2 separate regions of the Homo sapiens genome follow, and region 2 is linked to region 1. Evidence: promoter capture Hi-C in human tissues and cell types (Jung and others, 2019). All regions are on one chromosome and are shown on one strand. The core of a region is centred on a gene start or on the middle of the fragment in contact, and the rest is flanking DNA. Distances in the headings are between cores, read along the strand shown.

Region 1 (5,227 bases), core at 788-3,287:
TGCAATAGTCCAAGTCAGAGATAATGGTGAATTGGACCAGCGTTCCTGCAGTGGAAAGTGGCTGGATTATGGGTAAATTCTGCAGACAGAGTTAATAAGATTTATTGACTACCTCAACCTCTGGGTGTAGCAAGACTGGAGGGTGAAGACGTGCCATTCATCTTCACTACTTGCTGATTCTGTACTTGTGAATTTGCAAAATTTGCATTCTCATAAAATGTACATGTAACCCCCAAACCAATACTTGTGGTACTTTTAGTCATTTGTTGACATGCAGAGTGGTGAAAATTTTGAGTACCCAGGTGCACATGTTCCCATCTGAGGTTGAGCAAGGCGACACTCTGAATTCTTGTTTCAGCTCTCACACCGTGTAAGTGTTCCTGCAGTCTACCTTGTGCCGTTTATTTTTGCATTTTTCTTAGTGATTTTACTATTTCAAATGGCACCCAGGTATAGTGCTGAAGTGCTGTTTAATGTTCCTAAGCACAAGAGGGCTGTGATGTCAGCACTTTGGGAGGCTGAGGCAGGAGGATCGCTTGAGTCCAGGAGCTTGAGACCGGCATGGGAAACATGGTGAGACCTTCCCTGCTCACCGTCTCTATGAAAAAAACACTGTTTAGTGTTGTTCCTAAGCATAAGAGGGCTGTGATGTCAACACTTTGGGAGGTCAAGGCAGGAAGACCGTTTGAGCCTGCAGTGAAATATGATCACGCCACTGCACTCCAGCCTGGGTGACAGAGCAAGACCCAGTCTCAAAAAACAAAACAAAACAAAAACATTCACGTAAAGAGCTGTTGGCTGAGTTCTATGTTAATGAATCCACAATACACATTTAAAAAGGTGTCTTTAAGTAGAAATACACAAAAAACAGGTTATGTACTGATCAGTTGATAAAAATGTGACCAGTGGCTTGTAGGACCCTAACCCAGTACTTTCTCTAGGTGCAAGAGTTCAGTATTTTGTTAGTTTTTGTGGTGACTTTAGAACATAACTACCAAAAATAACGAGAACCTGCTGTACAGAGTAAGAGAATAATTTAGAAGTTCAAAAAAGTGCTGCAAATAGGGCTTGTAAATACTTTAGCCTATACAGAAAACTGCAGGGAGCTGCATTAAGAAAATCTACAATGAGAAATTAGACTGGGAGCACATATTTGGTTGACAACAGCTGAGAGAAGGGTAAATGATGGCTCAATGCACTCACCCTAGCTGATGGAAATCACCTGAAGAGTTTAAGCAATGTTAATATCTGGGTTCCACCACAGAGCTTGAGTTAATCGATACAGCATGCTTACAAGCTGCAAAAGCTTCCTAGGTGATTCTAATATGCAACAAAAACTTCTTAAAGTTTTACTTAGCATTCCTAAGAATCACATGCAGAGCTTGTTAGAACAGATTACTGGGTTTCACCCTCAGAGATTTTAATTCAGTAGATCTGGGATGGGACATCAGAATCTGCATAGGTGATGCTAAAGCACCATGGCTACGCATTAAGTACCACTGCCCTGTATCACTTCTGTCATGAAGCCACAGATAGCCAAGGGAACTCAGGTTGAACAAACCCCAGCAACAGAGCTCCCTTCAGCCAACACGTAACTGTTCTCATCTCTTGGTTCCACTTTTCCTCTGTGGCCTTAACTTCTACACCTCATCTTCCGCGCAGCTTGAGCTGCTGCCTGTGGGCAGCCTCAGTCCTAGCTGCGAGATCCACACCCACACATCAATTCTGGCTTTGTTCAGCTCACGTGTTCATTCTCAAACCAATTCCTGCAGACAGAGACGAATAATCTGGCCAGCCTGAGGAACGTGCCCATCTTTGTGAAAGGACTGTAAGCCACAATGTGCAAAAAGTAATCGCCCTGTCAGTTTTTGTATATTTAACAATTACTGCTACAGAGAATTTATTCCTTCATTTCCATTTTCCAAATTTTATTCCAAAAAAAGGGGATGTGTGTGGAAGATTAAGACGTCCATGAAGGGTAACCATCATCGTTACAATAAAGTATTCAATTGGACAGAAATGACAAGGACCCAATTCAGTATGTAATGTCCTATTTTCCCACTGCACCAGTTAAAAAAAGTAAAGCCTTCCTAGTGTGGAAGAGTAGGACTGCTTTTACACTGAAATGGTGCCCCAAATGAGTAATAAAATCTCTGATTCTATTTATCCTTTTCTTTCTGTTCTTTTTCTTTCTTCTCACGCTCAGCTTTGGCTTCTTCTTCCTCATGTTTTTTGATCAACTGCTCCACTTCTTTTTGTTTGAGAACTCTGATTACTGTCTTTCCATTCTCTCTTGTTAGTGTTGCAATTTCCACTAAAAACAAACACATACATTTATTTGTATTGCAGGCAGGCAGGCATACTTAGCAGAGAAGCTTAATAGGCACTCATGGTTTATGCTCGCCACATCATTGAAACGTTAGTTCAGCACTCTCCTATGTTTTATACTTAACATTATTCCCTTTTATGAGAACAATATACTTTTGATCTTGTAATGTTTTAATTATAATTTTTACTTAAATATCGTCTCCTCAGCCATTTTGTCACTCCCTTAGAAAAAGTATAATCAACCAATTGCTATTGCCGGCCTGCTATTAGCTGTGCTGATTAGACGGAACTGTTGGAACCTCTGAGGGCTCAGCCAGAATCTTCAACTGGTAATAACAGCTTATTTTTTATGGACTTTTCAAGTCTCTTAAAAAAATAAATAAATAAAAGGCATGAAATGGCCAAGAAAAGCAGACTGATACCTAAAGGGGAAGGAATTTTTTTGTACCAGGGAAACTGAGTAGTGCTTCCTTGAAACTGGGTGGAAGTAGACAAAAGAGGGCAATCTGCATGTAAATGACATTTTCTTTTTCTTTTTTTTTTTGAGATGGAGTTTTGCTCTTGTTGCCCAGGCTGGAGTGCAATGGCGCAAACTCGGCTCACTGCAACCTCCACCTCCTGGGTTCAGGTGATTCTCCTGTTTCAGCCTCCTGAGTAGCAGGATTACAGGTGCGCACCACCACGCCCGGCTAATTTTTTGTATTTTTAGTAGAGGCAGGGGTTTCACCATGTTGGCCAACCTGGTCTTGAACTCCTGACCTCAGGTGATCCACCCACCTCGGCCTCCCAAAGTGCTGGGGATTACAGGCGTGAGCCAATATGCCCGGCCGTAAATGGCATTTTCTAAGGAACACCAGGAGCTAAACTGTCCTAACATAAAGCAACATGTTAATTTACCACAATTTCTGAAAAACATTTAGAAATATTCTTTTTTTTTTTGAGACAGAGTCTCTCTCTGTCACCCACGCTGGAGTGCAGTGGCATGATCTCAACTCACTGCAGCCTCCGCTTCCCAGGTTCAAGTGATTCTCCTGCCTCAGCCTCCCAAGTAGCTGGGATTTATAGGCATGCACCACCATGCCTAGCTAATTTTTGTATTTTAAGTAGAGATGGGGCTTCACCATGTTGGCCAGGCTGATCTGGAACTCCTGGCCTCAGGTGATCCACCCACCTCAGCCTCCCAAAGTGCTGGGATTACAGGCATGAGCCACCAAGCTCGACTGAAATATTCTTTTATATAGTCATATAGCTTAAGTTGAACAAGGTATTTGGAATTGCTAACATGAGCTTAAAATAAGAGATTAGTAGATTAAGAAGAACAGGAGAGGGTATCACAACCCACGCAAATGTTGTATCTCTGGTAAAGTATACCAAACCTATGTATAAATATATAACTACATACGTATGCTTTATCATATATACACACAAGCAAAGATATCATTGATGAGAAGACTTGATAACTGTTAACTAAAAGTAGCACAGTGCAGGATGTCTATCTGTGAGTAATGAGATTGTTCAGTATCAAGCCTTTAAGTTTGGAATACAGTGTGAGATTGTGACTCCACAATTTACCAATGTTGATCTTGGTCAACTCACTTAACCTCATTAAGCCCTAGTGTCCTCAGTTAGAAGACAGGGATAACATCACCTAATTCGTAAGGTTGCTGTTTCAATGAACTAGGATGACATGTTAAAATCTTAACAGTTGCTGGCTGGGCGCAATGGCTCACGCCTGTAATCCCAGCACTTTGAGAGGCTGAAGCGGGAGGATCACCTGAGGTCAGGAGGTCATGACTAGCCTGGCCAACATGGTGAAACCCCGTCTCTACTAAAAATACAAAAATTAGCTGGGCATGGTGGCGCGAGCCTGTAGTCCCAGCTACTCGGCAGGCTGAGGCAGGAGAATCACTTGAACCAAGGAGGCGGAGGTTGCAGTGAGCTGAGATTGCGCCACTGCACTCCAGCCTGGCAACAGAGCGAGACTCCATCTCAAAAAAAAAAAAAAAAGAAAAAAATCTTAACAGCTGCTAATTTCCCTCACTCAGTCGAAAGAATTAAAGGAGAGGATATGAATTACCTTTTTCAGCAGAGAGTTTACTAACATCCATGGTCTTATTTAGTACTTTGATAGCTAAAGCAAGTGCTGACTTCAAGGTCATTTCTCCTTCTTTATAGTCTTGTTTCAACATTGACACAGCTGCCTATAAAACATGAATCAACATAGAATTTTAAGTTTTTACATTTTTTAGAAACATGAATTGGTCTAGAAGAAAAATGCCTGAATTATTATTGGCATTACAAGTATAAACAATTTTTTTTTTTTTTTTGACACAGGGGCTCACTCTGTTGCCCAGGCTGGAGTGTAGTGGCATGATCTCAGCTCACTGTATCTTCAAGTCTCCCCAGGCTCAGGTGCTCCTCCTCCCACCTTGGCCTCCTGGGTAGCTAGGATTACAGGCACATGCCATGGCGCCCAGCAAATTTTTGTATTTTTTGTAGAGATGGGGTTCTGCTATGTTGCCCAGGCTGGTCTCGAACTCCTGAGCTCGAGCAATTTGCCTGCCTCGGCCTCCCAAAGTGTTGGGATTACAGGCATGAGCCACCATGCCTGGCCCATATACATAATTTTGATGACAGGGAGGGCACACACGGCACGGGGTGAGAAGAGGGGGTACTAATGCTCTATAAAGAGTGTCTTTAACCTGGGGTCCTCAGTCTCCCAAGGGGTCTGTCATAGAATACAGGGGGTCTGTAAACTAGATGTGAAACAAAATCACAGCTTCTAATTTCACAACTCCTAACTGAAAATTAGCATTTATTAATGTAGTTAACGAACCCCAGTATATTAGCTATATCAGCAATGCTGTCACCAACAGAAATCACAGATATTTCCATATCA
Region 2 (5,227 bases), core at 1,201-3,700, 470 kb after region 1:
TGATAGATCTAGGAGAGATGGGCTACACCCTCCCCTGTCCTGTTGCCTCCCTGTACCATGGCAATACAGACCGGGTTCTCCCAGCTCTTCCCTTTCCCACAGTATTTCAAGGTCAGACCTCACCCTGACTGCCTACCCCACAAGCCAATTAGTCACAGCCCCTTTTACATACATGGTGAGGCCCAAATTGAACTTGGGACCCCTTGCTCCCGAGAGCAGCCCACTCCACTCCCGCAGCACCGCAGTGTCTGGCCTCCCTTGTCTGGGCCCGGTCTGACTGTTGGATTCCCCCTCTCCGAATCTGCTGACTGATGAGGAAGACATCGGTGTTAACTGCAAGATGATAATAATAACAGCTGATATGTGCTGAGTGCTTACTATGTGTGAGGCACCGTGCTAAGCACTTTCATATGCATTTCTCACGTAACCCTTTCAATAACAACAGCACGAGATAGCTACTTGTATTTATCAACCCTGTTTTATAAATGAAGAGACTGAGGCCCAGAGAGGTTAAATCACTTGCCCAAGGTCATGCCTCTGGTAAGTGGCAGAGCTAGGAGACACATCTGGTCAGTGTGAAGTCAGAGCCCAGTCCTTAACACTGTGCTGATTGTGCTCAAAGACAGGTGGAGAGGTCAGCCACACCTCTGATGGGCCCCAGGAAAGGAATGCTTGCGTGGTGCCACTTTAGGGCCTGCAGAGAGTCGGCAGGCTGGGTGAGGACCCAGAACCTGCCCTTCCTACCTGGGTGGCTCCAAACAGGCAGTCTAATTTGTGTCCCTGTCCAGCTCAGAAAGGTCAGTTTTCCACCTGGGTCTTTCAGTGTGTCTGTATAAAACATGCAAATCTATGAGGGTGAGATATTTGGTTTGGGCTTTCACAAATGTAGCTATGTAGCTATACACTTCCTTTTTCCTTTGAATAAAGTGAGCTCTTGTACTCACTATTCCCTCTCCCTGGAATGCTTCACCCACATTTCTGGTTGCCCCTGTCCCTCCCATCATCTGGGTTTGTGCTCCATGTCACAGGATCAGACCAGCCTCCTTGCCTGTCCTGGGGCAGCAGCCTGCTATCTGCCCCCCATCACTTCATCCTCTCACTTTGCTTTTTACTTATTTTTTATTCTTGTGGGAACATAGTAGGTGTATATATTTATGGGTTACATGAGATATTTTAATACAGGCATGCAATGCATAATAATCAAATCAGGGTAAGTAAGGTATCCATCACCTCAAGCATTTATCCTTTGTGTTACAAACAATCCTATTATACTTTTTTTTTTCTTTTTAGACAGAGTTTTGCTCTTGTTGCCCAGGCTGGAGTGCAATGGCGCAACCTCGGCTCACTGCAACCTCCACCTCCGGGGTTCAAGAGATTCTCTTGCTTCAGCCTCCCGAGTAGCTGGGATTACAGGCATGCACCACCACGCCCAGCTAATTTTGTATTTTTAGTAGAGACAGGGTTTCTTCATGTTGGTCAGGCTGGTCTCGAACTCCCGACCTCAGGTGATCCACCCACCTCGGCCTCCCAAACTGCTGGGATTACAGGCGTGAACCACCGCGTCTGTATTATACTCTTTTGGTTATTTTTAAACGTACAATTATATTATTTTTGACTGTAGTCACCCTGTTGTGCTAGCAAATACTTGGTCTTATTCATTCTTTCTCTTTGCTTTATTACAAAGCAATAGATTTGCCTTCTCAGGTTGTGAGTGTTCAAATAAGTTAGTCTATAAAGCACTGATAAATACTAGGTGCTATTTTAAGCGGTAATCATTTACATGTCATCACGGCATTTATACAACATAGCACACATTACTTTTATCTGCTTTCTTGTGTGTCACCTCCCTGCCTTACTAGAATATAACCTCCACGAGGGCAGGAGAATGATTGGTTTGTTCACTGCTGTATCCGCCAGGGCCTGGCATACAGAACCGTACCCGGCATTCAGAAGGCGCTCAATAAATATATGTTGAATTCAATAAATGAACTGAGGTCTGGAGAGGCAGGAAACGCTTTGGCTTTCATGAATTCTGCAAATATTTACTGAGCACCCACTCAGCACCAGGCAATAGGCTGTCTCATTTTTACAATATTAGCTTGAGACTCTGGCAGGAGGGAGATTTAAATATCAAGTTTTTAGAATAAGATACACAGTGTGAAATGCAGTTTTAAGCGGACACTCCGCTGGGTTTTGAGAGATGCACACTCCCATGTACCTACACTGCCATAAAGAAATAGACCATTGCTTCATCCGGCAGGGCGAGGACTTGGAGCCCAGGTGGCACGAAGGCAACTGACCCGCGGGGTGCTGGTCGCAGGACCCTGCCTCCGGGGGCTGAGGGGGCAACGGCCGGCGGGCGGGCGGGGGCGAGACTACAAGTCCCAGGGTGCTTTGCGCGCCCGCGGGCCGTGCGGAGCGAAGGGGCGGTGCGGAGGGGGTAGGGGGCGCAGCGGCCGCGGCGCGGAGGCGCAGGGCGCGGGCGCCTACGGTTGGCGCGCGGTAGCGATGCCGGGGGCCGGAGCCCGGGCGGAGGAGGGCGGCGGCGGCGGCGAGGGCGCGGCGCAGGGGGCGGCCGCGGAGCCCGGGGCGGGTCCGGCGCGGGAGCCAGCGCGGCTGTGTGGCTATCTGCAGAAGCTGTCGGGCAAGGGCCCCCTGCGTGGCTACCGCAGCCGCTGGTTCGTGTTCGACGCGCGCCGCTGCTACCTTTACTATTTCAAGAGTCCGCAGGACGCGCTGCCCCTCGGCCACTTGGACATCGCGGACGCCTGCTTCAGCTACCAGGGCCCCGACGAGGCGGCGGAGCCGGGCACGGAGCCGCCCGCGCACTTCCAGGTGCACAGCGCGGGAGCCGTCACGGTGCTCAAGGTGGGACCGCTCGCCCCAAAGCCGCCCGCGCGCTTCCGCCGGCGTCCCCTGCCTCCGCCACTGGCTTGCGCCATCCACCCTCCTTCCTCCAAGGCCTCCTCGCCCCTGCCCACGTCGGCCTGCCTTTCCCTGCTTCTCCACATCCCGCCCTCGTTCCTATCTCCTCCCCACTATCTGGGCTTAGGCCAGTCTCGCTGGGGCTACCAAGCCCCGTCTCCTTTCTCAGACACCTTGACCCATTATCTCCCTCTGCGCCTAACCTCGGGCCAGTCTCTGGTGTCTCCCGACCCCCACCATCCCGTGGATGTCCTGTGCAGCCTTCCCAGGCATCCGTGAGCGTAGGCTTCTACCCCTGGGGCCTCCTTTAGAACTTTGCCTATGGCCTTGGTACCTCAGTGAACCGCTCTGGGCTGCAGCGGCCTCCTCTGTAAAATGGGATAACAGTAGTATCTACCTCATGGGGTGTTGGGATTAAATGAATTATACTTTAAACTGCTCAGTAAATGTCAGTGCTTTTATTTATTTGTTTATTTATTCTTTTTGAGACAGGATCTTGTTCTGTTGTCCAGGCTGGAGTGCAGGGGTGCGATCTCGGCTCACTGCAGCCTCCATGCCTGGGCTCAAGAGATCCTCCCACCTCAGCCTCCCAAGTAGCTGGGACCACAGGTGCGGGCCACCACGCCTGGCTAATTAAATTTTTTTTTTTTTTTAAAGAAACGGGGGTCTCACTATGTTGCCCAGGCTAGTCTCGAACTCCTGGGCCGAAACCATCCTCCCCATCCAGCTTCCCAAAGTGCTGGGATGCCAGGCGTGAGCCAGAGTGCATTTAGCACTGTAGACAGAAAGAGTCAGATGGCAGGGCCCTTAGAGACAGTCCACTACATTTTCCTCCAGAGTGGACGGGGATGCTCCAGCTAAGGTCACACAGCCAGTAGGTGGCAGATCCTGTGTTCTTCCTCCTTGCTTTGTCCAGGATGGGTGGGAGGGGGTCTTTTCAGCCAGTTATGCCTTGCTCCTTTGAGGCTCCCTTAATCCTCCAGTGGACAGACAAAATGAGAGATACAGTGTAGAAGCAGGAGAGTAGAGTCAGGAGTCCTGGTGCTGAAAGGCCTCCCCTGTCCTTGGGAGTTCTGGGGGACTAGACTGTCACCTCCTAGGGGCCCACCTGCTTTGAGCATCTGGAGGGATCTGGGCCCAGGCCTGGAGCTGGGTATCCTTTTTCCAGGCTTTGCTCCCTGCCTGGTTTCTGTGAGTCTCCACCCTCACTCTCACTCCTCTTCCGTATTCCAGGTTGGGCTTTCTCCAGAGCAACAGGGTTGGGCTGGGATGTATGAAAGTGCTCTCAAAGCTGGCCACACGGAGAGCAGACTAGGCAAACTCCTGGCCTTGTGAGCTGAGGACTGTTCCTCAGACCCCCAGAGCTGCTAACAGCTGGAGCTGCTCCCTGGAGATGTTCTTAGAGCTTTGCTGACTCAGCTTTTGCCAGTTCAAGCAGGATCTGATTCCCATGTTCTCTTGGGCTCCCCTGTCCTGTCTGTAAGTGGGTGCAGACAGCCTGTTTCCCCAAAGAAAACCAACTCGGGTTGCAGTCCTACACAGGCTTACTTAGAGAGTGCCTGTATAAACTTGGTAATGACCCTAGTGGGAGACCTTTGCCAAAGGCAGAGGCTCTTCCTCAGTGTACATACGGGCTGTCCCTGTGTCGGACGAATTTCCTGTGGGATGTTTGTTAAAGAAAATAGAGCATCGTGTTTCACATTTTTCCCAGATGACTGTAGAACTCTATCAGTTTTTTTCATTAAAATAATCTGAATCTCCTGTAATCCCAGCACTTTGGGAGGCCGAGACGGGTGGATCACGAGGTCAGGAGCTCGAGACCATCCTGGCTAACACGGTGACACCCCATGTCTATTAAATATACAAAAAATTAGCCAGGCATGGTGGCGGGTGCCTGTAGTCCCAGTTATTCGGGAGGCTGAGGCAGGAGAATGGCGTGAACCCGGGAGGAAGAGCTTGCAGTGAGCAGAGATCGCGCCACTGCACTCAGCCTGGGTGACAGAGTGAGACTCCATCTCAAAAAAAATTAAAAAAAAAATAATAAATAAGAATCTACATAAGCAGGGTTACAAGGCGCATTGTCAGAAGTGTGGCTTTAAACTTCGATGGACTTGAACTTGAAGCAGGAGTCTGCTGCTCACACATATTGGACAAATTACACCAGTTCCCTGCTCCAGTTTCCTCTTTGGTCTAGTGGGAATCATACCTTCCTCATTAGGTGGCTGTGAGGATTCTGGAGAATGTTATGGAAAATGGCTGGCGCATTTTCCATAGTGGTATGGAAAATAGTAGGCACTACATG

What was found. The method cuts DNA at HindIII sites, captures the fragments that hold promoters and counts their contacts. A contact is called where the count stands out against the background at its distance.
Region 2: the fragment with the promoter of TBC1D2B here is called in contact with a fragment that was not itself captured in region 1 in 1 of the 25 tissues and cell types used here (adrenal gland).

What each region holds. Positions count from the first base shown.
Region 1 is chr15:78,545,877-78,551,103 of GRCh38, reverse strand. It overlaps PSMA4 (proteasome 20S subunit alpha 4), which reads right to left. Exons shown (of 9, transcript NM_002789.6): 8 at 4,406-4,529; 9 at 1-2,314. The coding sequence ends at 2,160. Among named protein-coding and RNA genes, the nearest start is that of PSMA4, 8.0 kb to the right of the region's middle. The HindIII fragment of the contact is 4,467 bases long and covers 1-4,270 here.
Region 2 is chr15:78,074,934-78,080,160 of GRCh38, reverse strand. It overlaps TBC1D2B (TBC1 domain family member 2B), which reads left to right and starts at 2,450. Exons shown (of 13, transcript NM_144572.2): 1 at 2,450-2,868. The coding sequence starts at 2,509. RefSeq lists silencers at 2,165-2,214, 2,365-2,574, 2,775-2,974. The HindIII fragment of the contact is 18,770 bases long and covers 1-5,227 here.